Linked DNA regions of Homo sapiens: all the other regions are linked to region 1. Evidence: promoter capture Hi-C in 16 types of primary human blood cells and fetal thymus (Javierre and others, 2016). All regions are on one chromosome and are shown on one strand. The core of a region is centred on a gene start or on the middle of the fragment in contact, and the rest is flanking DNA. Distances in the headings are between cores, read along the strand shown.

Evidence for each region. Contacts are between HindIII fragments. The CHiCAGO score rates a contact against its expected background, and 5 or more counts as called.
Region 2: a contact is called between the fragment with the promoter of CTSL here and the fragment with the promoter of TUT7 in region 1, in 1 of 17 cell types (monocytes). The highest score is 6.5, in monocytes.
Region 3: a contact is called between a fragment that was not itself captured here and the fragment with the promoter of TUT7 in region 1, in 3 of 17 cell types (M2 macrophages, M0 macrophages and M1 macrophages). The highest score is 12.5, in M2 macrophages.
Region 4: a contact is called between a fragment that was not itself captured here and the fragment with the promoter of TUT7 in region 1, in 4 of 17 cell types (monocytes, M1 macrophages, M0 macrophages and 1 more). The highest score is 8.6, in monocytes.
Region 5: a fragment that was not itself captured here is called in contact with the fragment with the promoter of TUT7 in region 1 in 1 of 17 cell types (M1 macrophages); the score reaches 5.5 in M1 macrophages.
Region 6: a fragment that was not itself captured here is called in contact with the fragment with the promoter of TUT7 in region 1 in 1 of 17 cell types (M0 macrophages); the score reaches 6.8 in M0 macrophages.

What each region holds. Positions count from the first base shown.
Region 1 is chr9:86,352,875-86,355,752 of GRCh38, reverse strand. TUT7 (terminal uridylyl transferase 7) reads left to right here and starts at 1,343. Exons shown (of 27, transcript NM_024617.4): 1 at 1,343-1,482; 2 at 2,523-2,878. The coding sequence starts at 2,554. RefSeq lists a silencer at 1,085-1,264 and an enhancer at 1,285-1,494. The HindIII fragment of the contact is 6,298 bases long and covers 1-2,878 here.
Region 2 is chr9:87,724,687-87,727,804 of GRCh38, reverse strand. CTSL (cathepsin L) reads right to left here and starts at 1,686. Exons shown (of 8, transcript NM_001912.5): 1 at 1,407-1,686; 2 at 76-211. The coding sequence starts at 201. RefSeq lists promoters at 369-789, 369-1,408, 1,613-1,823, 1,662-1,843, 201-1,843 and 7 more, cis regulatory regions at 790-1,023, 1,024-1,169, 1,745-1,746, 1,769-1,772, 1,783-1,786 and 11 more and an enhancer at 1,374-1,895. The HindIII fragment of the contact is 5,945 bases long and covers 515-3,118 here.
Region 3 is chr9:87,528,986-87,532,001 of GRCh38, reverse strand. All of the region lies in intron 2 of DAPK1 (death associated protein kinase 1), which reads right to left. Among named protein-coding and RNA genes, the nearest start is that of DAPK1-IT1, 23 kb to the left of the region's middle. RefSeq lists an enhancer at 705-1,687. The HindIII fragment of the contact is 1,209 bases long and covers 824-2,032 here.
Region 4 is chr9:87,611,094-87,614,189 of GRCh38, reverse strand. All of the region lies in intron 3 of DAPK1 (death associated protein kinase 1), which reads right to left. Among named protein-coding and RNA genes, the nearest start is that of DAPK1-IT1, 59 kb to the right of the region's middle. The HindIII fragment of the contact is 6,433 bases long and covers 1-3,096 here.
Region 5 is chr9:87,473,457-87,476,447 of GRCh38, reverse strand. No RefSeq gene overlaps it. Among named protein-coding and RNA genes, the nearest start is that of DAPK1, 23 kb to the left of the region's middle. The HindIII fragment of the contact is 6,160 bases long and covers 1-2,991 here.
Region 6 is chr9:87,567,544-87,570,319 of GRCh38, reverse strand. The region is part of intron 2 of DAPK1 (death associated protein kinase 1); the gene reads right to left. Among named protein-coding and RNA genes, the nearest start is that of DAPK1-IT1, 15 kb to the right of the region's middle. RefSeq lists enhancers at 12-181, 1,963-2,132. The HindIII fragment of the contact is 2,520 bases long and covers 126-2,645 here.

The sequences.
Region 1 (2,878 bases), core at 94-2,593:
CAGCAGTGCCATTTACTTCACTGCAAGTGCTAAATGTCCTCATCTTTAAAAGTGGGATAATGATATAGTCTTCATGAAGCTGTGAGGATTAAAGAAGTTAAGGCTGGGTATGGTGGACCACCCCTGTAATCCCAACACTTTGGGAGGCCAAGTTGGGCGGATGGCTTGAGGTCAGGAATTGGAGAGCAGCCTGGGCAACATAGGAGACCCCTGTCTCTACAAAAATATAAAACAAAGGAGTTAATATTTGTAAAGCCTTCAAAACAGTTATTGGCATAGCCAGAACTTTGTGTGTTATTATTTTAAGACCATTGCTCCACAGGACCTGACAGCTTTCAATTTACATGCTTTAAAAAAGCAGAGAAATGAAAACTGTCGATTTTCCCAACGCTCCCTAATTTCACTAGTTGCTTGATGTTTTTCAAAGCATTTAGAACACTGTAAACAGCAAGGAAGGTCATACAGTAAAGAAAGAAAAAGCAACCCCGAGTTCGAGGTGTGCACTCTTCAACTCAAAAATTCGAATGTAACGCTCTCTGGTCATCCCTTGCCATTACACATATTCTTCGAAATGAACTGATTTTTTTTTTTTCCAAGTAAAAGTAATCCTTACACAACCTAAGAAAAAAGCAGAGCATTTTCCTTGACCACTTTGAGATCTGGGTGAGCAGTGGATGTTTAAATGCTGGCATTTCTACAAGGTCGGCAATTAAGAATTCACGAAAACATTAATCACTACGAATTATCAGAAAAACACCAAGAGCGCTACGAGGCCTCGGAGCCTTTACTCCCCCTGGAAGTAACCGGGGAGCACCCAGGGGCAAAGCCGAGGCCCCAAGCGCGGGGAATGCGGCTTTGCCCGACCGCTGGCTCCGCGTCCCTCTCCGGGTGCATAAGTCTTGGCTCCCGCGCCTCTCCCGAGCACTTAGCCTCCCGAGCAGAGAGGGGAACCAGAGGAGCGTCGAAGCCGGGAGAGAAAAGGGGCGGGCGCCGCTCTGGTAAGAAGTTCGGGCCTGGCCCCCAAGCGCCGGCGAACCGGCTATCCGGCGAGCCAGTAATTAGCCCGCTCCGACGGTTGCGCCCGGTGGCCAGACCCGGCGCCCGACACCTGGAGCGAGTGCGCTGGGGCGCCGGACAGGAGAGGCCAGGCTGGCAAAGGCGCGGGAGGCGGGGTCGGAGCGTGGGCGGGGCACCGCGGGGCGGGGCGCGTCGCTCGTTTCCGGTGTGCGCGGCGGAGCGCTAGGGCGGGGGCACAGTCGGCTCCCAATCGCGCACAATGAGACAGCGCTGAGCGCCGGAAGTGGGGCCGAAGGAAAACACGGAGAGGGAGCCCGGCCGGGACAGGAAGAGGCTGGGGACCGCGGCGAAGGTGGTGAGTGCTCTTGGGCGCCTTCTCCCAACGTCCCTGCCAGACTCGCCTCCGGGCTGATTCTCCAGTTGGTTTCCTGGACTCCAGAGTAGCTGTCCGGCCTGGCCCCGGAGGTACGTTGGTTCCATCCCCCGCCGGCCTCCTCGCACCAGTTTGGGTGACCGAGGAACCCCCAGGCCGGCAGAGGCTGAGCCCTCGGGTTCGAGTCCGTGTTTTCACTTTTTGTCAGACTGCGGGCGCAGAAGACGGGATTTGGGTCAAGACATTCGGCTCTGGCCCCCTGGCCGGCCGGGGGAACCCTGGAACCCCATGGAGACAGCAGGTCACTTCCTGCTTCCTGGTCCCCACGGTGGCTTCTTGGCCAGGAGTGCAGGGACGCCTCCTCTTTCTCCACGTCGGGCTCAAAAGGGTGGAAACTAAGGCAGATCGGTGGTGGAGCGGTCAGATGGGGATTGAAGAGGAGTGTCATTCCTCAGGGAATTGCTGTTCCTGACAAAACCAAACTTGTTTGGGGTTGGAGAACGGGGATTGAGGAGGTTAGATGGAGTTGTCCCTTGATCGGAAACCCAGCCTCTTTAATTACAGCTGCACCTTGGTCGGAAGCCCAGCCCCTCCGTAACCTAAGCGCTCAAAGCCGGTCTGTCCAGAATAGGGGTGGTGAAGGGACGGAAAATTGGAGTTGAGAAATGTAGTACTCCTTTCACGTAAAGTTTCGGTGTATAACACTTACAAGTAATTGCCAACTTAAAAAACAAAAGACTGTTTCGGTAGTTTAGTAATAATATTGGCTTGGGATGAGGTTTTCTTTGAAGAGAAACGCCTTGTTACAGAGGGAAAAGCCGACCATACTTGATATGAGTAATATTCTACTATGCTACAGTTCTGGAACCTATAGAGCTTCTCTTATTCACACATTTAATCTTCATGCTAAATAGTAAGTATTAATTTTCATGAAGAATATTAGAGGACCAAGCCTCCCAACCTCTAGGGTAAAGCACTGATTATTAAGAATGTGATAGAATTTTTATTTTAAAAAAATAGGGAGTTTCTTTCTTACAGGCTTTGGGGCATCTGTACGATAAATTGTTATTTTGTATACTTGTATGATATCTTGTTATATAGTTTGATATTTCCCCAAAATACCTTCTTTCAGGTGCAAAGTAAGAAAATTGAAGTCAAAGACCATGGGAGATACAGCAAAACCTTATTTCGTGAAGCGCACTAAAGACCGGGGGACTATGGATGATGATGACTTCAGAAGGGGTCACCCCCAACAAGATTATTTAATAATAGATGACCATGCTAAAGGCCATGGCAGTAAAATGGAAAAGGGCCTTCAAAAAAAGAAGATAACACCAGGGAACTATGGGAATACCCCCAGAAAAGGACCATGTGCTGTTTCCAGCAATCCATATGCATTTAAAAACCCAATCTACAGTCAACCCGCTTGGATGAATGACAGCCACAAAGATCAGAGTAAGAGATGGCTGTCTGATGAACATACTGGTA
Region 2 (3,118 bases), core at 437-2,936, 1.4 Mb before region 1:
TGGCCTCTAGAAGCTACTCTCTGACTAAAACTTCTCAACAGCCAGGACTATTCTTTCTGGGGAAGTTTCACTAACCATGCCGTATAATCTGTTGTGCATCGCCTTCCACTTGGTCCACTGTGCCTCTAAACTGTGATCAAATGTTAGAGTAGCTGAGGCAATTCCCAGGCAAAAGGCAGCAAGGATGAGTGTAGGATTCATGTTTTAAAACCTAGGAAGGGAACAAAAATGAGGATCTGATTAGACCAATCCTAAAAAGCCATCTTACTGCCCCCTGAAAAATTAGGGCCACCATGGTAGAATAAAAATATTTAAATTATTCTCCCAAGCATTTACCCAAGGACTGTGGAAGAGGCCAAGGATGTGCCTGGAGAAAAACAGGGCACGTGGAGGTACTGGATGGACTCACCAAAATGAAAAGCAGCCTGTCCAGAGCTGTAGGAGCTGAAACAGTTTATGCGATGACAATTTAGGTTATGAGAACGGTATGAAACTACCTTGTGTGTGAGAAGCTTAAGGCAACAACTAGGAAACCGGGAAACGGTTGATCCAGGTTTTGTACCAATCGCAAAAAATCCAGGTTTCGTGCCCAGGCAAAACCTCACTAATGATAAGGTGGGATTCCCAAGTAGGGACAAAGAGATCCCCAAGAGTTAGGAGGCCTTCACACATCTTCCTGACTAACAAACACCAAAAGCTGAGATAAGTTTTCCAATCTCTCCTATTTATTTATTTATTTATTTATTTATTTATTTATTTATTTTTTGAGATGGAGTCTTGCTCTGTGGCCCAGGCTGGAGTTCAACGGCGCGATATCGGCTCACAGCAACCTCTGCCTCCCGGGTTCAAGCCATTCTTCCTCAGCCTCTTGAATAGCTGGAACTACAGGCGTGCGCCGCCTCGCCCGTCTAATTTTGTATTTTCAGTAGAGACGGGGTTTCACCATGTTGGCCAGGCTGGTCTCGAACTACTGACCTCAGGTGATCCGCCCACCTCAGCCTCCCAAAGTGCTGGGATTACAGGAGTGAGCCACCGCGCCGCCCCAACCTCTCCTTAAATGAAACCTTTCTGAAATGCTTTCCCAGGAAAAACTGGGAAGGAGAGCACGCACTGCTCCCTCCTTCATTCACTTGGGCCTGTGCTGCCGACACCCCAAACTGCTCCCCTAAATCAGGGACGGGGTCATATGGCCGCACGCGGGAAGCCAGCGCCCTGCAGCCAGCTTCCAGGGCTCCAGGCGTGGCAGGGCCGGGGACATGACGCCTGCGCCACACACTGGCTGTAGCGGTCAGAGGATGTTTGCGGTGACGCCAGCAGGAGTACCGCTGTCTGGCGTGCGGGGACTGAGCTTCCCTGTCTGGCCGGGCCAGGCCCTGAGTCGGCGCGGCGCGGCCTGGCTGCGGTACCTGTGTCCACCCGGCTCGGAGGCTGGCCTGCCCGCTCAACCAGTCACGCGCCTCCGCGGGGTCCTCAACTGCCCTCCCCGGCTTCCCCACCTCAAGGCCAGCAGAGTTCGGGGTAGACGCTCTCGTTGCCAGGGCTGGTGCACACCTACTCGACCGCGTCCTCTCTTCCAGTCCCTGTCCGGCCACAGCTGGGCCTGGCCGGCGGCGCTTTCCTGCTGCGGTCGTAGCTGCGCAGGCGCACTCCACGGATGCCGCTCAAGGTTGCGGAGGTCGCGGTTCTGGCCCAGCTTCGCCTGACTCTGCTTCTAAAACCTCGGGTCTGGGTTCGGCCGGCACCGCCCCGCCGCCTGGCTGCGCTGCGATTGGCTGTGCCGGCAGCTGGGCGGGGACTCTGGGTGCTCTGATCCCTGGCGCGGTTCGTGGCTTGTTTACTGACTGTCCCAGAGCTGGGCGTGCCTGCCTCAGTGGACCTGGAGGAAGCAGAGCTGGTGCCCCGGGGCGGCGCAGAGTAGGGTCGGGCGTCTCCCTGGAGCGCTCGAGTCAACTAAGTACACGACTTACTGCACTGGGCGAGTGGCTCCTGAAAAGACGTTTACCGCAAGCCCTGTGTGGACTGTTTCAGCCTAACCTTGCTATTCCTTAGTCCTGGAATTTTTGGTCCGCAGAGCCGAGAGTCAAGTGTACTCTAGTCCAGTGGCTCCTGTTTAGTCCACAGCAAACGTGGGGCCGGGTGGACGAACGCAGAGCCCGCGGGCAGAAGCCTTATCTCCCACTTAAGGGTGGGTGCAGCTGGGCTTTAGAAGAATCTGGTAAGGAAAGGCATCCCCAAAACACGAGATGCTATCGTCAAGACCAGACCCTAGGAGGGAGGAGACTGGCTGCGTCTCCAGAGAGCGCGGGCGTTTTGTCAAGCATCCTTTCCAGACTCCTCCATTCAGGGATTCTTCCTTCTCCCACGTCTTACCCAAAACCAACAGAAATGAGTTATTTACAGAAACATTTGGTTGACAGGAGAAAAGCAGTTGAGAACATTAGAAGCTGCTTTTATTCGCCCACTCTCTAGGCTATGGATTATATCTTCCTTGGTAACCAAGTCGTTCTCTTGAGATTTAAGAAATTTAATGACATTTAATGTCAGGATTTAAGATACAGAGAATGGAGAAATGTTGTAGATAGAGGAAAAATATGTATCTTAATCTGTATAATGTAGATATTAATTTATGTAATTAAGGATTTAAGGAACAAAACCCACAAACATTCTAAACTTTTGTCATTTCATTTTTTATTACATAAAAACATTCATTGTAGAAAATACCTTTCGGGGAAAAAAATAATTACCTCTGCCTTTACCCCATAACCTTTTCGTATGCATATTTTGACTTTGTTAAAAATGAACAAAGTCCATTGATTTCTATTGAAGATTAAACTGATAACTCTTTTAGAAGCACAATCACCTATAGTTTTTTAAGTGGTAAAATATACCTCACATAGCAAGTACCATTTTAACCAACTTTGAGTTCAGTAGCATTAAGTACCTTCACATTGTGTAACCATTACTACTGTTTATTCCCAGAGCTTGTTTATCTTCCTAAACTGAAACTGTATCCATTGAATAATAGTTCCCCATTCCCCCTCTCCTAGCTCAGGTATCTACCATTATATTTCCTGTCTGCAGGAATTTGTTTACTATTTTGGAGATTATTCCTCTTTTT
Region 3 (3,016 bases), core at 179-2,678, 1.2 Mb before region 1:
CGTGTTTGTTAGTAATGATGATGCCTCTTAAAAGGCAAAACCAAGAGTCAGGCCCATAAGCATTAAGCATTTCCTAGAACACATTAATATCAGCCCAGGGGGCACATGGAGGGAAAACTACTGCACAATAAGGAGGCCCCTGGGGATTTCTCTGAACTCATCCCCACCTCTCAGACTTGCCTCTCTTCCTGCATTCCAATATTCTCTAATATTCTGTGGACATTCCTTTATGTTCACAGGAAACAATAAGACACAATAATTGAACTTTCAGGCAACCAGCTTTTTAAGCTATGTACAATAGACAGCACCTGTATGAAATCCTGGGCATAATTCTGGTTGTGACAGTTCAATGCCCTACACTGGGGAGAGGACTGTTTTTTCTCAACATTACACTGAAGTGACAGCTCCTCTGCCTTTTTCTACTCATCCTCAGGTCAATATTGCAGCACAGGTTTGCACCAGTCTGAGACACGCCAGTCTTTGCTGTGCAGTGAATGCCCTCTTACCCCCAACTTCTCCCTTCACCACCTACAAAGGCTTCAGATGGACTCACTGTCCTAACTATTCTTCTTTCTATTTATTCTGGTTCCCCAAATTACAAAGTATACTCTATGAAGAAAACACAGGAAAGCCCCAAGGGAAAAATCACGTCCATTTTCAAATATTGTTTCTTCTTTGAACGACCAGGCCTGAGGCTGGTGGCACCAGTAATGAACTCCAGCCAGCTACTGGCAGTGAACATCGGGTATGGATAGACCAGCCCTCTAGTCAGAGGGGACTCACGCACAAGCTATGACCCACACTGCAGTGGAAACGAAAAGCTTGCTGAGCCCACTGCGTGCAACAATGCAATGATCAGAGCATTTTATCCTTAAATAATATTTTTGACCTAGATCTCTCCCCCTAACCCCTTCTCACTCCAGAGAAGGAATTAGATAGATACTTTAAAATATATCCATGCTTCCACTTGACTATCCAAAGGGTAAGCATTTCCTGAATTCACTGGTCTGTTTTTAAAAGGCCTGGCGCTAATGCTCGGCTCACAGCTGCTCCATCCCCCTGGGAAAGGAAGTTACTTAAAATCTTTGAAGAAGAGACCTGCATGAATATGGAGAGGTCACTGGTCTGGCCCCAGTGACTACCTTTGTTCCAGTGAGGATGACCTTCAAAGGGGCCCTTGGGGGTTTCTTTGGATGTTTGTTCCCACCTGCGACAAGAAGGCTCCCCTCTGTGCATCCCTCATGTGGCTCCAGCACATGAAACCCCAATGTCACAAAGGGAAATCGGCTCAGTCTGTCCCATAATGTCAGAATTCCCTAGATGGTGGGGTTTAAAAATTAAATAGCATGTCTCTCTTTTTAAAGAACTAACTTCATATTCTTCAAACAGAAAGAAATTATTCTGAAATTTCTGAAGAAGTACAGTGGATAAAAGAACTTTTCATCCATTATTAAATCTAAAAGGGAGTGCATGGGACTGCATATTAACTTCCTCTTCCAATTTCAAAACGGGTTAAGGAAAGTAGACATAAGATTTGACCCTTGGAGACACTGAGGTTGTTAATGTGCTTAATATAAATTCCCCTTACAAAACAGACTTGAAATTAACTTGCACATTTAAAATCAAGCTACCCTACAGAGGGCTAGATGTAGGAACTGGTAATACAGCCTGTGTTGGTTAGGCAGTGTCTTTGAGATTAATACTAAAAGTTACAAGATCTCTCAACTGCTTCCCCAGGACTTCTGACGACCAAATCAAAGTGGCAGGCTCAGGGTCAGCTTATTCCTCACATTCTGGAAAATAGTGGAATAATAACAATAGAACATAATGGGAACCATATAAGTTCTCACTGGGGAAAAGAGAGGGGCAAGATTAGGCTGTGCTTTTTCCATTCCAAATCCCAGAGGGGGAAAGCCTAAATAATAAAAACAGGACTGCGTTGAGGACTTAGGCACATTCTCTCATTTCGTCTGCACAGATATCTAAGGAAGTTCTCATTATCTTAATGAGGAAGCAGGGGTTCTGAGAAGCTTGGGCGGGCGGCATTAGGGAAGTTAGGGAGGCATCAGCTCCTCCTCTGCACCAAGCATTCTTATGAATCCCAAATTTAAAGGCCCAGAGGTGAGTAGGAGGAAATTTAGAGCAGATGACCACAGAACAACAGAACAGGTCTGACCTGTTCTAGGGGCAGGTGACAGGGACTCGCCTCCTGGCATTCTCCCAGCCTAGCCTGAGCCCCTTGGGTCTGGTGGCTTCTTTGCTCCAGGCAGCCTCAATGCAGTCAAGGGTCCTTGCAGATAAAGGCACGTCCACTGCATTCCACGTACTGTTAAAGCTCTGTCCCCTCCTGTGCAACCTGGGCCTTCCCTCCACCTTTGCAGCCAAGAAATAAACACAAACTGATAATCCAAAGACTGTGCCATATATCCCCCAGAGCATGTGGTATACACTCCATAACTTTTTACTGAGCATCTACTATGTGTCAGGCACTGTTGTAGATGCTCAGGATAAAACAGACACCAAATCTCCTCAAAGAGTCACAGAATAAATGATACCCTTAATTTTTAATTTAAAAGATAAATTAGTAAGATCACGTTAGAAATACCTTAGAAACTACTAGGTACTAGTGTTACTGGAAGCGAATCTGTATGGGTCTGCAGCAACCTCAATTCTTTTCTCCTCAAAAGAAAGAATTCGACCAAGGGGGCCTAAGGCAGAAGAGACTGAGGCAAGTTTTAGAGCAGGAGTGAAAGCTTATTGAAAAGCGCTAGAGCAGAAATGAAAGGAAGTAAAGTACACTTGGAAGAGGGCCCAGGAGGCGACTTGAGAGATCAAGTACGCGGTTTAACATTTTGACTTGGGGTTTTACATGTTGTCAGACTTCTGGGGTCTTGTGCCCCTTCTCCCCTGATTCTTCCCATGGGGTGGCTGTCTGCATGCTTAGTAGCCTGCCAGCACCTGGGAGGTGAGCACACACAGTGTGTTTACTGGAGTCATACACATGGCTCCCTTGAAG
Region 4 (3,096 bases), core at 90-2,589, 1.3 Mb before region 1:
GAGTGAAAATACCTATTTAATAACATTAAGGGAACACTTTTCAACTGAACTGGCAAGAAGTGAGAGTATGGGGGAAGACACACACAGGGTTTTCTTTCTCAAGAGAATGCCTGGATGGAAAATAACCTATTTTACATGATTTAGCTCTGCTTTGAAAGGCAGAGACTGCTGCCAAATGCACTTTACTTCTCTGCTCTTGCCTAATAGTAGGTATCTGAGGAGCGGGATGCCAGAAGTGGAACCCACAAGAGCTCTTGAAATTACCTTTGTGAATAAAGACAAAAGTTCAAAAAGTCAAAAGAGCTGGCTCGAGCTCAGAAAAGAGAGAACAAATGTGGCAGCAAAAGAACGCATTGAGGAAGTCTGAGTGTGTGCTATTGTGGTTCGTGAGCGCCCAGAGAGAAGCAGAGACAGGGAGACTGAAGGGCTCTGTGCCACACACCCCATTTATCAGCTTCCCTAAGTCCCGACCACCACATTCAGCTCTGTACAATTTTTGCCACTTTTAAGATCCTTTGAAACTATCACTTTAATCACTGCATGTGTTTCTTCAAAGGCTCTTGCGATTCTGATCTTGCTGACCAAGGCACCATGTGTTCGTCTACATACATGCACCACGCTGACATACAATGAAAAACAAAGTTGTATTTGTATTCTGATTATTTTGCATCTCAGTTTGGTTATGAGAGAGTGAGCCAACTGAACCGTGATCCTACATAAAGTGACCTAATATTGCACAAATGTTTGAATACAACTTAGCAGTTGTTTGTGATGGGCAAACTGAATTCCAGAAATTATTAACTTAGCCAAAGTAAAACACAGAGCTAAAAAGGAGTTGTTCAATAGGCACAGCATTTCAGTTTTGCAAGACGAAAAGGTTCTAGAAATCTGTTGCACAACAATATGCATAGAATTAACACTGCTGTACTGTGCACTTAAAAATGGTTAAGATGGTAAACTGTATGTTGTTTTACCATGATTAAAAAAATCAGCAAAATTTACCTTTTTAAATATAAAAAATGCATTATTCACTCCACGCCCTGCACTTGGCTACAACCATAGCAGACTGCACTAATTAAATGGAATTTCCTGTCACAAAGAAAGAGAGAGAAAGCTAAATGGGGTTACTCTGTTTTAAAGATGTGCTTCGAAATGGAAGCAGAACAAATAAGGGGAGACATTTAGGATTGGAGAACCAAACTGGCTTGATTTCTCTGGAACAATCCACCATGCCAATACTTACTTGGCCATCTTAGCACTTTTACTTTATAATTCTTAACATGGTAACCTTTCAGACATGTGATCCAGAGCTACTCAGGTGACCATCCTGAAGCAGGCCAGAACCTGGTGATGTCCATTTCTTCCTTATCTTATGTTAGACTCCAAACCCCCACCCCCGCTCCAATCCTTCTCTGCTCAGGCTATCTGCAGGGAGTGAGATGTATGTATTGCGTCATTTTGCAGTTACCTGATGGCATTACCATAATTAGGCATTATGTTTTGTTTTGTTTCTAACTTGCTTATAGAATTTTAGATCAACATGCGAGTAGGCTCCCAGTCCAGGAAATCTAGTTTCTGTTAACTGGTGCCTCTGTGTTAGTTTCCTAGGCCTGCCCTAACAAAGGACCACACATGGGGTGGTTTAAAACAACAACCTGCTATCACATAGTTTTGGGGGCTGGCAGTCCTAACTCAGTACGTTGGTAGGGATGGTCCTTCTAAGGGATCTGAGGATGAATCTGCTCCATGCCTCTGTCCTAGTTTCTGGCAGGTTCCTTGGCGTATAGATGCTTCACTCCATTCCTCTGTCTCCACAGGGCCTTCTTATAAGGACACCAGTCCTATCAGATTAGGTTCTCTGTGCTATTCCAGTATGACCTCATCTTAACTAATTACATCTAAAACAATCTCATATCCAAAAAGGTCATGTTCTGAGATACTATGGTGCTACGGTTTGAATGTTTGTCCTCTCCAAAACTCAAGTTGAGATTTAATTGCCATTGTAAGAGTGTTGAGAGGTAGGGACTTTAAGAAGAAATTTAGGCCATAAGGGCTCCTCCACCTTCATGGGTCAGTTTAGTACCTTTAAAAAAGGGCTCCTGGGAGTGGGCTCTTGCCCTCTCTTGCCACGCGATGCCTTTTGCCATGTTATGACAGTAAGAAGACTCACATCACATGCAGCAAAATGTACTTCCTGCCTCCAGCACTGTAAGACATAAACTTATTTTCTCTATAAATTACCCAGTCTGTGGTCTTGTTATTGCAAAACCCAAAATGAACTAAGACAGGGACATAGCACTTCAACATATCCTTTTTGGGGAGCACAGCCTCTCAAAAGATGAACCCAGACCAGCAGCATCCGCATCACCCGGGAATCTGTTAAAAATGGAAATTCTGGCTTTCAAGGTTAGGAAAAAAGGAAAAATTGAAATTCTGGCTGGGCGTTGTGGCTCACAACTGTAATTCCAGCAACTTGGGAGGACAGGGTGAGAGGGCTGCATAAGCCCAGGAGGTCGAGACCAGCCTGAGCAACAAAATGACACTGAAGCTACAAAAAATAAAAAATAGCTGAGTGTGGTGCCACACACCTGTAATCCCAGCTACTCAGGAGGCAGAAGTGGGAGAATCACTCGAGCCCGGGAGTTCAAGGCTGCAGTGAGCTATGATTGCACCACTGCATTCCAGCCTGGGTGACAGAATGAGACCCTGTCTCAAGAAAAAAACCAAAAAGTCAATTCTGAGCTGGGCCCAGTGGCTTACACCCCAGTCCCACCTACTCAGGAGGCTGACGCAGGAGAAGCGCTTGAGTGCAGGAGCTTGAGGCCAGCCTGGGTAACATAGGGACACCCCGTCTCTAGGAAAAATAAAATTAAATAAAAATGCAAACGCCTAGGTCCCACCCCAAACCCACTGAATACAAAACTCTGGAAGCCTGTCAAATAGTCAAACAAGCCCTTCAGGCAATTCTGATGCATGCTAAAGTTTAAGAGCCACTGTTTTAAACTGTATATTTTTTAAAAAAATCATTTTATAATGCTAAGTGTGCATCTTGCCCTTCCCATAGAATCACTAACCCTTTGAGGCAGTCTTTCTCAT
Region 5 (2,991 bases), core at 311-2,810, 1.1 Mb before region 1:
AACTTTCACCTTCCACTCTGTAGCTTATTCTAGGGAGTAGATTCATAGCTCACCTTTTGACTGGCACCTATCCTGAATGACAGACAAGGCCTATTTATCCACAGTGTTTCCCTATGGAATATTTGTGTTTATTTGTTCTGCCTCCATAAAATGTAGTTTTGAACTTCCAAGAAGAAAGAGAAAAACAAGAAAATGAAACCTCACAATTATTTAGTGGGAGTTGTACACACTGTTATGGCCACAAACTGTCTTTGCGGGCAGGATGCTTCATTTTACATTTCGGCTCCCTTCCTGTATAAACATGAGCAAATTACTGAAATTACCTATACCTCAGTTTCCTCCTTAGAAAAATGAGGATATTAGTATCTACCTCATAGGGTTTTTGTGAGTTTTAAATGTCTGTATAGCCTGGAGCCTGGCATACAATGAATATAGATTTTATTTTTATGATCTGATTTGCAATATCATGCCCATCATATAAAATTATGAGGAACTGGATGATTACTGTTATATATTGTGGAGATATAATTAAGATAAAAATAATGACAATGAAAGGGCATCATTTAATTTTAAACAATTGCTAAATGATTATGCTATATTTCCTGTTATCATCATGATCATAGAAGGGAGATAGACCTGGCATTGACTCTAGCAGGAAGGTCTAGAGAAGAGATAACAAGTGAATAGATGACAATTTTATGAGCTCAAAGTGAGCTCAGAATTCATTCCTCAGCAAAAATAGAACAGTACAGATTTCTCACATACTCTACGTTCTGAGAGGAAAAAAATAACTCACTGAGAGAAAAGGATAAAATAGTGTAGGAGTATTTCAAAGTGGTCGGGGAAAGAAAAGTCTTCTGGTTGCTCCTTTGAAGTTAGATTGAAATGAGTCTATTCCCTACCCAAGAAAAGAAGACATGATTTGCAGTGTATATTTAATTTTTGCTAAAAATATGTAGCTAAGAGAAAGCCAAGGAAATATTTTCATTTAAGAGAAGCCAACTTTGGTGTTGTTTTCTGTGTGGGTGGAAAGTGCTGTGTTTTTATTCTTGCCAATCAATAACCAAAATTCACAGTCTCAATACACATTCCCATTCAATGATTATAACCTTATCTTGGTCTTTGGGGAGGCTAATGTTCAAAGCAGTCAAGTTCTCCAAGGATAAACGTTTCTTTCTCCAGTTGATGTGTGCATTTCCCTGATGGACAACCAAGAAGTTACTTCTACTATTCTACCAACATTTTTTACTGCTTGAAATTAAGCTGCATTCCACTCGGAGGTTGCATCTGAACATAAACTAGACCCCTTGACACATTCTCCTTGGTATGTTTGGAGCAAGGCCGGAGGCATGCCACATGCTGGGGTGGACAGAGCATAAGTTTAGAGTCAGATAAGCCAGGTTCAAATCCCAGTGCTGTCACCTTACAAATGAGTAAGAGGGGATAATGATACCTATCTCATGGGGCCTTTATTAGAATTAATGAGGTCATGTATGCGTTCATTAGGGAAGTATGAGTAGGGCCATCTGGAGATTTCACACTGCCTGAATTTGAGTTCCATTTCTATCACAGTTGTGTGACATTGGAAACACTGGGGTCAGTTGTCTTTATCTATAAAGTGGGGAGAATGATAGTTCCTGCCCCATTAGGGTAGTTGAGATGATTAAAAATAAATAATAGGCCGGGCACGGTGGCTCACACCTGTAATCCCAGCATTTTGGGAGGCCGAGGCAGGTGGATCACCTGAAGTCAGGAGTTTGAGACCAGCCTGGCCAACATGGTGAAACCCCATCTCTACTGAAAATACAAAAATCAGCCAGGTGTGGTGGCAGGCACCTGTAATCCCAGGTACTCAGGAGGCAGAGGCAGGAGAATCGCTTGAATCCAGGAGGCAGAGGTTACAATGAGCTGAGACTGTGCCACTGTACTCCAGCCTGGGCAACACAGCAAGACTCTGTCTCAAAAAAAAAAAAAAGAAAAGAAAGAAAGACTATATGACAGCGTACATGTGCTTGGCTACTGTTAATCAGTATTATTTCTTTTTGGTCTTCTCTATTGAGAAGGCTTTATTTCTTTGCTCTTTTATCATGGGGATTGTTTTCAACCATCTAAGTTTCCTTGACTTTTCATTCTCCTGAACTCCTGCAGTGGTTTTTTGCACCTCTCTGACAGCACTGTTCCCGTGGAGTAGTTATTTTTATGTGTCGGCTTTGCTGGGCCACAGTATCCAGTTACTCAAACACTTATCTAGGTGTTGCCATGAAGGTAGCTTGTAGATGAGGTGAACACCTACAATAAGTTGATTTTTTTTTTTTTTGAGTCGGAGTCTCACTCTGTCACCCAGGCTGGAGTACAGTGGCACAATCTCGGCTCGCTGCATTGCTCTGCCTCCCGGGCTCACGCCATTCTCCTGCCTCAGCCTCCCGAGTAGCTGGGACTACAGGCGCCCGCCACCACACCCAGAGAATTTTTTGTATTTTTAGTGGAGACGGGGTTTCACCGTGTTAGCCAGGATGGTCTCGATCTCTTGACCTCGTGATCCACCCGCCTCGGCCTTCCAAAGAGCTGGGATTACAGGCATGAGCCACCGTGCCCGGCCTAATAAGTTGACTTTAAGTAAAGGAGATTTTCCTGGATGACATGAGTGAGCCTCATCTAGTCTGTTGAAAGTCCTAAGAGCAAAAACTGGAGTTTCTAGGAAAAGAAGAAATTCTGCCTCAGGACTGCGGTGTCAACCCCTCCCTGAGTTTCCAGCCTGCCGGCCTGCCCTGTAAATTACAAACACAGCAGCCTCCACAATTGCATGAGCCAATTCCTTAAAATAAATAAAACTTTTCTTATCTGCTGCTGCTTCTGTTTCTCTACAGTGCCCTGATAATTACATGCCACCTGCTTATTTATTATTGTGATGATTATATATTTATTTATTATTGTTTTTTACTTTGCGTGAAAACATTAGTTGTATGCATCATTTACCCTCCAGGATAGGAA
Region 6 (2,776 bases), core at 136-2,635, 1.2 Mb before region 1:
AATTAGACAAAGCTGGAGTCAGAAGTGAAGTTTCTATTAGACAGAGAGGCATAAACAGAGTAAGAATGAAGTGTGTCTTGTGTACATATGGGAGGGAAAATGAGGTTCAAGAGTCCATAAAAGCTTTAGTAATATTTGATCAGCAGTGTTTGTGCCTTCTTTTTCCTGGACTGCAACTAACATAAATTTTTCTCTTATCAAAGTGATTAAAAAAAAATAGAAAGTGACTCAGTTATGCAAACTTCAAGATAAGGTGTAAAAGAATCTGATGCAGGAAAAAACACACATTGCTTTTGTCTTATAAGCATTTCTAGCTCATTAAGACTCAGAAACACAAATATAATAAGACCAGAAATAAAATCATGACATTCGGAAGTCTAGAAGTAGTAGTTTATGGTGATTTCATTAATCAGAAAATAATACCTAAAACTTTATTTACCAATTTAGTGAAAGTTGTTTTCTGAAGTCTTAAAAATAAAGGAAGAGGACAAATAGTTCTCAGCCTTGCATTTACAGCTGTTTGGCACCACTTCTATAAACCACCCTTCCAGCCAAGAAACTTAACACAAGATTAATGGACTGGAAGACCTCTCGTAGGGAAAGCCTGGGTTTAACCAAAAGGCACTGCTACACACCCGGATGCACCCGCATTGACACTGACAGGATCCAGTTCTGCACCCACTTCCTTTGAAAAACATGGCCTATCAGCTTGAATTCTCCAGCAGTGAGAACTTAGGTAATCACACGTTTTGAGCCTAAACTGACATCCATTTCAAAAGATCGATTTTCCATCCAACTGCTTGTCAAAAGTAGGACACTAAAGTATTTATATGTATTAATTGCAAATTGAAATAACCTATCTGCGTATTTCTATATGGGCACCTGCGATGAAGCACATAAGTCAATGATCACCTGAGTCTCGCTGGAGGTAGAGCTTTGAAAAATACAGGTTCCTGGGCTCCCCCGTGAACTCTGGATTCAGTCCATGGGGCAAAGCCCAGCAACCTGCATTTTAAAGAGCTCCTGGGTGCTTCTGATGCACAGTGAACTCTAAAACTCACAGACTGGAGTAGTAATTCTCAACCATCGTCAGTGGGGGAGGGGAGCTGTTGAAAGTCCAGATGCCCTCACCAGACTCCACACCAATTAAGTCCTAATCTCTGAGGCTGAGCCCAAGTACAGGCAGTGTTTAAAGTTCAGAGGGATTCCCCAACCAGCCAAGGCTGAGAACCACTGAGGTTAATGCAAAGGGATGCTACTTATTAAAAAAACACACGTGACCTGGAGAATTTCCTCTATCAAGAGAATCTGCCTCGCCCCACACCTCCAGTATTTTTTAATCACTCCTACTAAGTTAGCTGGATTCTGTATTCCTCTAAAATTCCTTTCTCAGTATAAAGTCTGCTCATCACATCAGACCACCACACATCTGAGGACAAGAAATGAGTTCTTTACTGTGGAGAGCTCCCCTTTCCCACCCAGGGAGTAAATGATCAAGGCCTGCAATTTGGAAGTGGACCAGTTTTGCAACAGCCCCAACACTATATGGCTCAGAGACCCATTACCCACTCTGCAAGGATTTTTAGAAAATGATTTGTAATAACTTGGGTGCATCACACAAGGTACATGTGACAGCCTTCCCCTTCCATATCCTAGTGGGTTGTCACCTTGTGCAGAGAGGACGGAGGAGGCACGGTCAGGCTGCAAGGTGACGCCACCCACACTGCATCCCACCTTCCCACTCTCTTTAGCCAACATTCCTTGAAGCTGGGGGACCCAGAGCAGGCACAAGAAGATGACTCCATGAAAAAACATCTCCCCCACAGAATGCATTAATTAGAAGCTAAATTGCTTCAACAAAACTCTTTTCAAATGCAAGTACCATCAAAAGAAGCCTATTCACCAAGGAGTGTTGCTTTAATCCACTGATCACAACTGGAGTGTTGTGTGGGATGGTGTCTGTTTGATCCAGAGCAATGGGCACAGTGTTTTGAAAAGAACTGAATCCACTGTCAATATTTTAAAACTCTGATTCCCAGCAATGCATGAAGACTTGGAAGAGCTGGCAGCGTTGGCCCACGGCCTGCAGGCAGTCAGCGCCCAATGCATAGCGACTGCCCCTTCAGATGGCCCCGTGCGCTCCAGCTGGACACAGGCCCGCAGCTCCCCGGTGCCTTATGCCTGGGTGGCTTCACTCCTCCTCACTGCTGTCTGCAGAGCCAACTCTTCTTTCATCAGTAACTCACCCTAAAGGGGCAGAGCTGGTGACAGCTTTGTAATCACAGTTTTGGTCTTCTACTCATTTAGCCATGAGACCTTGGACCGTCTTCTTGGAGCCTTAGTTTCCTTAGCATTACCATTTCAACTGAATAGTGGCAGCCTTTTTGGGGTGTCTATAAATATTAAAAGAAACTGAAAGTGAACACGAAAGCATTTGGAAATGATGGAGCAGTATGCCCATGGAAACGATCGCTAGCCAATCCATTCAACACAGCAACTCAGAACCCTTGAGTCATGCTTGGGAGGGACGCCATGGAGGGAGGTCCGGTGGGGTGGGGCTCACAGACTCATTCGGAGGCAATCTGAGGAATCCAGGTGGTAGCCCTATGAGTGCAACAACTCCATCTCCAGCACTGAGAAAAGCTTAATCCTAACAAGGGCTCCTACCATGGCAAGCGTGCCAGTGGAAACCAAGAGGCTATAGGTTCTTGAATTCAAATGAAGAGGCTACAAAAAGCATCCTCACAACCGAGCCTAATTCCCTGGCTACTTCCAG